3 separate regions of the Homo sapiens genome follow, and regions 2 and 3 are each linked to region 1. Evidence: promoter capture Hi-C in 16 types of primary human blood cells and fetal thymus (Javierre and others, 2016). All regions are on one chromosome and are shown on one strand. The core of a region is centred on a gene start or on the middle of the fragment in contact, and the rest is flanking DNA. Distances in the headings are between cores, read along the strand shown.

Region 1 (3,466 bases), core at 577-3,076:
TAATCTCATAATATCTCTACATAAATAATATACATCATAACTCATCTGAATGAAGATGAAACATGGCAGATTAACAAAGGAAGACAGAAAAGAGAAGAAAGGAGTCTGTTGGGGAAGCTAGACATTTCTTCCAAGCATCTCCTTTCCAATACATGTCAATTTCACTGTGAACAGGAACCATGGTAAAGGCCTTTCATTTCCTCCTGATGAAGTTTAGTCTTAAAAGTCATTCTGTGCAACCTAAATGGAATGTTGCCAACTTAACATTCCTTGGAGTCTTCCTACATCTAACAGACAACTACCTTTAAAGAATAATGACTAATTGGGGTTGCCTATCCCTAAAATCACCCTAAAATGCAATTGATAAATGTGCTAGTGGACAAAGGCTCATTTTTCCTGTTTCTTTAGGCTTAACCTTCCATAGGTATATCATTTGCTGAGCATCTAATCCACCATGGAAGGTGCACAGTGCACATGGGATGCTGGTGCAGATTTGGGGACTATATTTTTTGTCTTTTCCTCCCCTCACTGGAACCTGTCAGACAGCTAATACTTTCTTACAGAACTGAGCAGGCCCTCAGAACTTGATTCTTCAGCTAGCGGGAGAAAAACCCCAACATGTTCTCTTCAACAGTCAGCTATTATCCTTTCACCCAGCTTTTGATAAGTAATATTTTTAAAGTAATGTTTGCAATAGATTGTCATTTATTAGGATTAAATAAAAGATGAGCTATGAGGATTGACTTTCAGTTCCATATTTACAAGTTCATTCAGTTAGAAGATGCAAGCAATGAGAAAAAAGGGATGACCCATGGCAAACTGTGGGGAAGGGACAGGATGCAGCAGTGACCATGTGCCAGAGCAAGCACCAAGGAAGATGAAACTGAAAATAACCAGCTGAGGAGTTCATGAATACACCTGAGGCCCTTAGGAGACAAAAACATCTCGTCTAGTAGGAGCACTCTGGATGAGAAAGGATGTGTGCTGTGGTGCAGACTGGAAGTCTGACAGTGGAAACAGGCGTGGCGAAGCTTCGAGAAGACAGAAGGTGCCCTCTGGGTGCTCAGTATCCCTGAGTTATTTTTAGAGTATGTCTGCTTACAGCCAATAGTTATTACTGGAATGTACACAATAGCAATCCCCACTCACTCCTTCAGGTGGCCTGGGAAAGGGGAATGAGGGAATAATCCAGAGTGATTGACAGTGAATTGTGACTATCAATGTGCCTTGTGTCTAGGAGATGATGTGGGGGTCAAGGGAGACTAAGGAAAAGAATGGAGAAGGACAAGTGGCTCTTCCGTTAGCCACAGAGAAGGGGCTACAACCGATCCTGGAACAAATCTTGTCTTAAACTGGAGGGAACCACATACATACCAATAGCAAGAGTCTTCCAGGCAATTTCTAAGAGGAGGGAAACCGCTAACACATAGCCTAGGTTTAGACAGAATCAAAAACACCCCCTTCAGGGACTATGGGCCTCTTGGAGGAAGTCAACTCTCTGCTCCCTCTCACAGAGGGCAAGCCTCCCAAGGAGAAGCCCTGGCACCCACGCAGGCAACAGAACCGCCAGGCCTGGCACCTACTCTAGACCAGGAGAAAGGTGCTGAGGAGCAGGCCCTCAGAACTTGATTCTTCAGCTAGCAGGAGAAAAACTGCAACATGTTCTCTTCAACAGTCAGCTATTATCCTTTTACCCAGACTGGGATATGCAGTCCTGTATATTTTCATCTTTGGAACAGGTGGCTTGATATGCAAATAAAGTAATAAGTGTCAGAGCTGTATCCTAGCAGTAGCTACTTTGCAAACGTTACCATGGCACCCAATCAACAGTGTTCTTAGAGGTAGCCACACCTCAGCAAGGGCTTTCTAACTTGGAACAGCAAAGTTCAAATGAACGAATAGACACAAACTGTGAAAGAGTCCTGAACCCATTACAAGGTGAATCTTTACAGCACAATTGCCTTCTGAAGCTACTTGAAACAGGGCATGGGACTTAAAGGAGAAAAAAAAGGAAATGGACCATCTCTTCTAACACCTGGAATGTGATCCAAGCCTGGAGACAAATTGATGGTAATTATAACTGCTAACATTTGTTTTTAGCTGCTAACAGATTGTGCACAGATTGTGAAGGGCAAACTCCATTCTCCAATTACTCCAGTGCAAACTGTGCTTTAACAGTACTCACTAAATCCTAGTTGAGTGAAATGAGAGCAGATTGTCCTTATGGTGTGGTTCATTTATGTTAAACTATGGAAAGCTGTCCTCCCACGGTCCCAGTCCAGGGGCCACTCACAGCCAGATGCAGAGAGCCCTCCAGCACGCTGGGCTCTACACATCTCTGTTCTTACTGCCAGCAAATCTGCTCTACAGAGTATAACATGTATTTCCCAAGCACAGACAAAGCAAAAGGAAAAGGGCTAGGCAGGAAGTAGGGACACCAGCTGCTGGGGAAACAAGTCTTAAGCAACCTGGCTTGTGAGCCAATCAAGGTTGCTAAGGTAGGTCCTGGGCCTAAACAGGGTACATTTCCACCTGGTTGGGGAGAATAAAATGACAGATACCAAAAGTTAACAAGATAATCTGTGGTCGATAACAAATTGATACAATAAACCATGAATTCTCTAAGAGTTCAAAGAGGGCAACAGTTCTTTCCTGCTTCCTCTTCAGATGAGGGTGATCAAAGAACAAGCCCAGAAAGACTCTGAAAAAGTGAAAACTTCACCAATAGGAAACTATAGTTGGTTGACACTGAAAAGTTGTCAGCAAGAATGAGACTACAGAGCTCCCTCCACTATGTGTTAAAGCCACAGTCCTCTCCATCTCCTTAAAGACAGTAATGATGTATCATTTCTGGCTAAAACAGCCACAGAAGATGGGGGTGCAAAGGAAGGCGTGCTTAGAAAAGCAATAGGGAGTTTCCATTTTGCTACCTTTATCTAAAAACACACAAAGACTTTTGTTTCCCAAAAGGGTAATTATGGGACCATTATATATAGTTAACTCCACATACACATCACCTTAAGAAATAGTAATAAAGACAGAAAAGTGCCTTTTGGTTCTGTTTCCATAACATTTAGCCAAATCAATCTGTAAATTGTCTATGGGTGAGTTGAAATTGTAATCTGAGCAGTAACCTGGATGTCCGGTGTACCACCCATAAGTCGACCACATCAAGGGCACAATATTAAAAAGCATGAAAGTTTGGGCTTGGTTTTGGCAAGTTCTGATGGAGAGATCCATCCAGCCTGATGAAGGCTAAGCAAGGAGGAGGTCCAGAGAGGAAACAATGCTCGGGAGTAAGCAGGAAATGGCGTCAGGTTCCAAGAGATCGTCCACTGCCAAGGGTTAAATCCAGCTCTCTAGAAGGAAAGCTATGACAAGGTCTAGGAAGCCTCAAGGCAGGAATTCAGTTACATCAGGAAAATATAGTACTAAGGAAAAAACAAAGCTAATGTCCAATCCTATG
Region 2 (3,514 bases), core at 750-3,249, 1.0 Mb before region 1:
GGACGAGTTTCTTAGTTTTGTCATCTCTGAAATGGGAATAATAATATTACTCCCACCTTGCAAGGCTTTGGGAAAGATTAGAGAGAATGTAAAAAGGTCCATGTGAGAGGTCCTCGTGGGTTAATGTGTGGGGGGAGTCCCCAGTCCCTCCCCGGGCACTCAGAGCGATGTGGGAAGACTGTGGAGCCCATGCTTATTGATGCTGTTTCATTTCAATTAAACCTCCGTCAGAAACATCGCATGACATCAAAATGGAAGAGATGTTGAGTCTGAACGGTGAGGTCATAGATTTTGTTTTTATTTATGTATTTTCCAAATAAAAATATGTATCATGTTTTCTCATCATAATTGTAATATGTGATGATGTATCAATTATGGAAAATACAGAAACTGTAAAAGAGGAAATGAGGAAAACCTTTGCTTCTCACTGTTACAGATAACTACTGTTCAAAATTATAGATAACAACTCTGGAGGCTGAGGTAGGAGGACTGCTTGAGCCCAAGAGTTCGAGGCTGCAGTGAACTATGATTGCACCATTGCACTCCAGTCTGGGTGACCAGCAAGATCCTGTCTCTAAAAAAAATAAAAATAATAAAAATTTTAAAAATATTTAATTAAAAAATTATAATGAATAATAATTTATTGTATATTTTAAAACAACTACAAGGAAAGAATTATAATGTTCATGACACAAAAAAAGATAAATGTTTGAGGTGACAGACATCCCAATTACCCTGACTTGATCATTACATGTTGTATACATGTATCAAAATATCACATGTACCCCAAAAATATATATAACCATGATATATCAATTAAAACATACTAAAAAAGAGCGATAACTACTCACTTTTCCTTTACTTAGAGTGTTTCATTAATACATTTACTGTTTTACAGAATTGGTATCACATTGTAGGTTACTATACTACACTTTTAAAATGTAATATTTCATAAACATTTTACCATGACATCAAATAATCTTAACACATTTAAGAATTAATGGTTGCCTTCCAATTTTCTTTGCAAAGTGGTTCATTATTTTTGTCATGGAAAAATAAATTTACACTTGAAAGAACTTTATTGTGTTAAAAAAATACTTGTAAGAGGGCTGCACTGCTTTGCCCAACAATGCAGTGTGTTATGTTTTATGTGTAGTGCAGGTCTGATGAAAGGTGATAAGCCTCCAGTAGTAACCATGATATGTGAAATGGAGATAAAGATGGTTGATTTTGTGAGGATTAAATGAGATCAGATAGGCAATGTGTCTCTAAGACAGTGTGGGCCATGGTGAATGCTGTCATGACAAAATTATGTTAGTCAAGGACATTGCTAAGAGAATAAGATGGGTGCTGGTTGGGGGTGACCTGGAGAATTGGAGGATAGCCCTGCCAGTGGCTGCTGAAGCCAGCTCCTACAGGATATCAAAAGCCAATGTTAAATACTCAGGAACTTTACAAGCTGGTTGTAAAAGCCTGTGAAATTTCACTGGTAGCTTGAAATCTGTTATGGTATGAGCATTTACACCACCAAAATTGGAAATCAGCAAATGCTATATTGTTCTCTATGTATGTATGTACTTTTCAGAGAGCTGATTTTACCAGCACACCACTAGCAGGGATAATTCAAAAGCTTTGCTTTTTCTCAAAGTGGTGGAGCCTGCAGGAAATGCTTGTGAGGGCTTGTAAAGCATTAGTAGATTTTGTTGAGATGGTGTGTGATAAACATGAGCTGAAATCTTGGTCTGATTGCTCTTGCTCTAACTGGAGGAAAGAATAGGGAAGCATAAGCGTTGGGGAAGCTAAAAGGGTAAACCTGGGGAGTTATTGTTTATGCTCCAAAAACAGAAATAACTGGATTAGAGGATAAGACTGCAGGAGATGGGAAGCCTTGTCACTTGGAGTGACAAAGACCTATTAGTAAATGGGAAACTCAGGGCTGAAGAGACATTCTTGGCCAAGAGAAACTTGTGGGAAGGAGTTTGATCGATGAACAAACACAGCAGTCTCTTTTGCCATAGAAGGCAGGTGGCAAGGATCAGAGTCAGAGGGTCCGTGCGCTACAAGGGTTCACAGATCACTGGTCTGTCTTCTTCATCTGACCCTGTCAATTACTTCTGAGATTCCCCACCCCCACCTCCAGGAGCTCAGGTGCAGGCTATAGTCTTCTTCTGCCACTTCTCTGTTCTGTCAGCACACCACTGCTTCTGTGCCCTTTGCCCTTGCAGTTTGGGTTTTCCAAAGGCAGAAGCAAGGACAGCGTTCTTCAAGAGGACTTCATGGTGTTTTAGAGATCAACACCTTGGAAAGGAAGAAAAGAAAGAGAATAGGGCCTGGGAAGACAGCTTCAATGCAGACCCAATAAAGCTTCCGGCAACCAGGTGAAGAATCTCCGGAGAGACCATTGCCCTTCAAATGTTCTGTGCCACCTGGGCCAGGATTTTAATAAGCTGCTTTGCTCAGTCTCCATATGAGAGCTGCCCAGGAAGGGAATGTCAGGGGCAAGGAGACTGCCTGCAACTGAGGCAGACCCTGGAGAGATAGAGGCGGGGGACTAACTACACTCCCACAGTGATCTGCTTTTGGGGAGGTGGCGTGGCAGAGAAGACACAGCTTTCTTCTTCCTCCACAGTGAGGGAGCAGCCTCCTTCACTACCCTCAGTATTGGTGCTCTTTAGAGGAATTTTCTGAAGGGCTGGGGACATCAAAAAGGAAGTAGGACACAGTAGAGAATAGGTCATAATTAATGTTAGAGGTGGCCACTGTCAGGGCTCACAGGTCCAGGTGGGCCTATCCTTGGCCTCTGCAGAGGGTTTTGGGGCCAGGCTCCACTGGCTGGGCCTGCCCACCCCTGCATCATGACTTCCTGTCCAGACCCAACTGCCCAAGGTCAGGAGAGAAGAAAATGCTCTCTGCCTCAGCCCAACTCAGGGCCTGGCTTCCCAGGCTCCATTTCTTGTGTTAGGATCTACCCTTTCTCAGCATTTTTTCAAAGGGGGAATGACTGCCTCTTTCTTGGGGAATGCCATTTTACACACACAGGTGGGGAGTGGGTGGGACAGCCACCTCAAGCTGGTTTCTCTTCAGCAGATTCTGGGTGGCTTAATCTTACAAAATGGTTTAGGCAGAGCTGCCCTAGGCCAGTCCATTTCTTTCTTACTGTGTCATACATGGGATTTGGTCCTGTAGCACTTCTTTCCAGCTCTCTACATCTTGCAAATTATGCTTTAAAAATCCTCATGCGTTTGATATAGGGTGCATTCTAAATCATTCAGAAAAGGAAAACATTTCTCCTATTTTTCTCTTTCCCTCCCTCCTCACCATAAAACAAACATGAAATCTCCAGTCAGAAGAAAACATAACCCAGTCTACAGAAATCTGAGCTCTGGCACAAGCAGACACATGTTAGCATCACCCTGCAGAACACTCAGCTTCTGAGGCAAAAATATTTCTTTTGGGAGAGGGATGATTTTACTAGGTTTTTTCTGAATAAACTTTATGAAACCACACGGTTTCT
Region 3 (3,536 bases), core at 274-2,773, 1.0 Mb before region 1:
CACAAGGCTCGTATCGCCAACAGCTATATACATTTTGTTCCATTTTTCTGTCTTACAGAGCCATGATAGAACTGTGGTTAGTGAGTTAAAATTCCTGGAGTAACTACTGTTTTTCTCCTTTGAAACTTAGGTTTCTAAAGTTGCACCTAAGGAATCTGTCACATTTTCTGTTGAATCATGGTTTTTGTTTTTGTTTTTAACAGATATTCCTTCTGATACGGACTTGAAAATTAGTGTATGGTGACCTGTGTTTAAAAAAAAAAGTACAATACAACTACATATAGCTATATAGCTTAATGAGACTTCCACCCCCCCCCTTTTTTTTTTTGGTTTGTTGTTGTTGTAGTAGTCTGGTGCTGGCCACATTTAAGTCTTAAAAATTTTTAAATTTTGTTGTTGATGTTTGTAGACAGCCCTGTTGTTGAAATCATGGCTTTATTCATTTTATTTATTTTTTAAACTTGCCTGAATTTGTTCTAAAGGAATATTTAAGAGACATAATTTTCTTCTCTTTACCATAACATTACACAAAACTTTTTCCTAAAACACGGTTGTGAGGTACTGATGAGGTGTAAGTGGAGCTGTTAAAAACAGCAGTGCTGTATTGCAGTTATGTATATTCGTGTACAGTATGTTTAGATCCCAGGTAAACATATTCTTTTCTGAGAGGATAAATACCTGCATTCAGATATTCCAGGTAAATATAATTGAGTCAGGGAGTAGTAAATCTGATGGAGAATTCACTTTGGGGAGGGGAAAAAGAATAGTATGCAAGACCCTTATTGGCTTTTAATTATACCTGAAACCAAAATGGATATTTTTAGTCTCTCTGCATGTGAGATTTGGTGTAACAAGATAGAACTATAATATATACAGTATATGGAAGGATAGATATAGTGCTTTGTTCATTTTAATTGCAAAGCTGCCAAAATAGTTGAAGCTTAATTACTTGACTTGCCTTGATTTATAGGACTGGGGCTTGGAGAAAATGAGCAGATGTTCCTCTAAGACATCGATTACAGAAGCCTTATATACATGGATTTGATTTTGTATTTGTAGCTGAAAGTCACTGTTGTCTAAAACTAACTTTTCTAAGTTATCAAAACAACCTAATTTCTTTTCCAACAAGGAGAACTTAATGGCATGAAGGATTGTGTGACACATTGGAAAAGCCAGCTTACTGCCACTCTCTTCCTTTGGCCATTAGAGGGAGGTGTTGCCTTTCATTGACGCTTAGAAGCAAATTGTTCACTTGTTAAGAAAAGTAAATCCTTAAAAAAAGAAAAGGAAAAAATTTAACCAATTTTTCTTAATACCCAGAAGGAATTATACTCAATATTTCCCTAGTTAAGAAAAGAGGAGATAATGTTCGTCTAAAAAACTCCAACGTTGTAATTACAACTCTACATTCATTTACTTACTTGACATACTGCCACAAAGTAGTTTTTGAGTTCATTAAAAATTCCAAAGGCATTAGTTGTTTTTTTTTTTTTTAGTGTTTTGTTTTTTAGTTAACTTTTATAGACATTTTAGTAACTTGCTAAAGATTCAGGGGATTCTATGAAACCCCGAATTTAGAAACATCTGGTCTACCTCAGTTAAATGTTGACTGCTTAGAAATATAGCTGAAGTGATCACCACAGCCATAAAATTGTTTAAGAAAGATTTATATAATGTTTACAAATCTGGAATCAAGGATTTTAGCTGAAATCCTTTAAGAGATATTAGAGCAAGTATTTAATTCAGGTATTTTCAAGTTTTAAAACTTAACCTGTTTACCTACTAAAAATAAAATAGCTAGTTTTTTTCTGCATATAAAAGTTCATTGAAATGATATGCCCTTATTTGCAATACTTTTCCCATAAAGTTTTAAGTGTGAAAGAATTGTAATTTACTAGATATGTTTGGTATGGGATATTTTGTTAGGCAAGTTTTCTTTTTTCTTCTTAAATTGCAATAGGCTTCCAAAAAGAGTATAATTGTTTCAGAACAAATTAACTCTTGGCATTATACGTCTCCCTTTTTCTTTACAGTATTAGTAAAAAGAAAAATTGTACACTTTCTGATTTTAACTTCACTAATGTAATTACTCTCTCAAGAAGCTTTTAAAATTTAAATTACCATCACACAACCTTTTTTATAGTAAAGCCAACATTTGTTCTCTCACCAAACCCCATGCCAAATTCATCATGAAGAAAGCTCAGCATAAGTAATTCAAATACTGCTTATAATTTTAGAGGGGGGTAGAATTTAGTAAATATTCCAGCCGGTCGTTTTATGCACAAGGCTTCAGTCAGAACATAGAAAAAAAAAACATTCTGTGAATGAAATATTGTATGTTCAGATTTTATAAAAGACATTTTTAAAAGCCCAATTTACAGCCGTATATTTTCTTATGATGTAATTTATGAAAAAGATGTCTGTACTAACAGGTGCTGTAACACTACTGTTGTTGGATTTTATTGTTTGGTGATAAATGTATACAATATTTCTAAGGGAAACTATGTACTGTGATGTAAAAGTCTGGGCAAAATGTATATAATCCTGTATATAATTATGTATTTGATTATAATTACTGATTGTAAAGATTTAATAAAATATGTAAATATTCCAGTTTAGTTTTAATTTGAATTTTTAGAATCACTGTGCATATCCTCATACTTTTATGTCTTGATGTTTATCACTCTGTTTTCCTTTTTTTTTTAAACTCATTTTATCCTCCGGGGATTGAATTCTGGGGACATTTTAGGCTGTAGAAACCCAAGCTTGTGGGCTAAAGTAAGGATTTTGTTCTAAGAAATCACTGAAAGTTTTTCAACAAGTCAGTAGCATGCACAAAGGTAATGCTAAGTGAATAAAACTCTAGAATTGTGTATAAATTATGATCCAGCGCTTGCTCACTCTCTCCATACACATATATACATACACATTATATATATATACACACACATATATATAATGACATTGACTCATTTATTCAACAAAGATTAAGGGCGTGCATGCCTTCTGTATGCCAGGCACTATTATAGGACCTGGGGTTGTAGTGGACAGATGGACAAAATGTGGTAAAGAAGATAGAAAATAAAGTAGTAAGTAAAAAGGACAATGAGTTTATGAAGAAAAAATTATGGTGAGGGGATAGAGAGTGGTGGAAATCATGGAGTGAGTTAAATAGCCAAAATACTAACAGTGGTTATCTTGGATTGTAGGCAATTGCTATTTCCTTATTTGTATATGTCAGTATTTTCATAAGTTTCCAAAATAAGCATTATGCTTTTAAAAATAAGTAGTTTAGGTCAGCGAAAGAAGAGAACATGAAAAATACACACGAGGTGGGGCATAGTGGTGCACACCTATAATCGCATCTCCTCCTCAAGAAGCTGAGGTTGGGAGGATCGCTTGTGCCCAGAACTTTGAGACCAGCCTGGGCAACAGAGGAGACCCTGTCTCAAAAACAAAACAAAATCACCCCAGAATCCTCCTATCTCATGTTTCTGCACGATTCAACCAATCCCATATGTACTGCACACCTACCA

What was found. The method cuts DNA at HindIII sites, captures the fragments that hold promoters and counts their contacts. A CHiCAGO score of 5 or more calls a contact.
Region 2: a fragment that was not itself captured here is called in contact with the fragment with the promoter of APOBEC4 in region 1 in 3 of 17 cell types (erythroblasts, M2 macrophages and total CD8 T cells); the score reaches 9.9 in erythroblasts.
Region 3: a contact is called between a fragment that was not itself captured here and the fragment with the promoter of APOBEC4 in region 1, in 1 of 17 cell types (megakaryocytes). The highest score is 8.6, in megakaryocytes.

What each region holds. Positions count from the first base shown.
Region 1 is chr1:183,651,676-183,655,141 of GRCh38, reverse strand. It overlaps APOBEC4 (apolipoprotein B mRNA editing enzyme catalytic polypeptide like 4), which reads left to right and starts at 1,826. Exons shown (of 2, transcript NM_203454.3): 1 at 1,826-2,070. It also overlaps a transcript of RGL1 not described here. The HindIII fragment of the contact is 5,397 bases long and covers 1,034-3,466 here.
Region 2 is chr1:184,660,179-184,663,692 of GRCh38, reverse strand. No RefSeq gene overlaps it. Among named protein-coding and RNA genes, the nearest start is that of EDEM3, 93 kb to the left of the region's middle. The HindIII fragment of the contact is 734 bases long and covers 1,633-2,366 here.
Region 3 is chr1:184,689,580-184,693,115 of GRCh38, reverse strand. EDEM3 (ER degradation enhancing alpha-mannosidase like protein 3) reads left to right here. Exons shown (of 20, transcript NM_025191.4): 20 at 1-2,879. Among named protein-coding and RNA genes, the nearest start is that of EDEM3, 64 kb to the left of the region's middle. The HindIII fragment of the contact is 1,162 bases long and covers 943-2,104 here.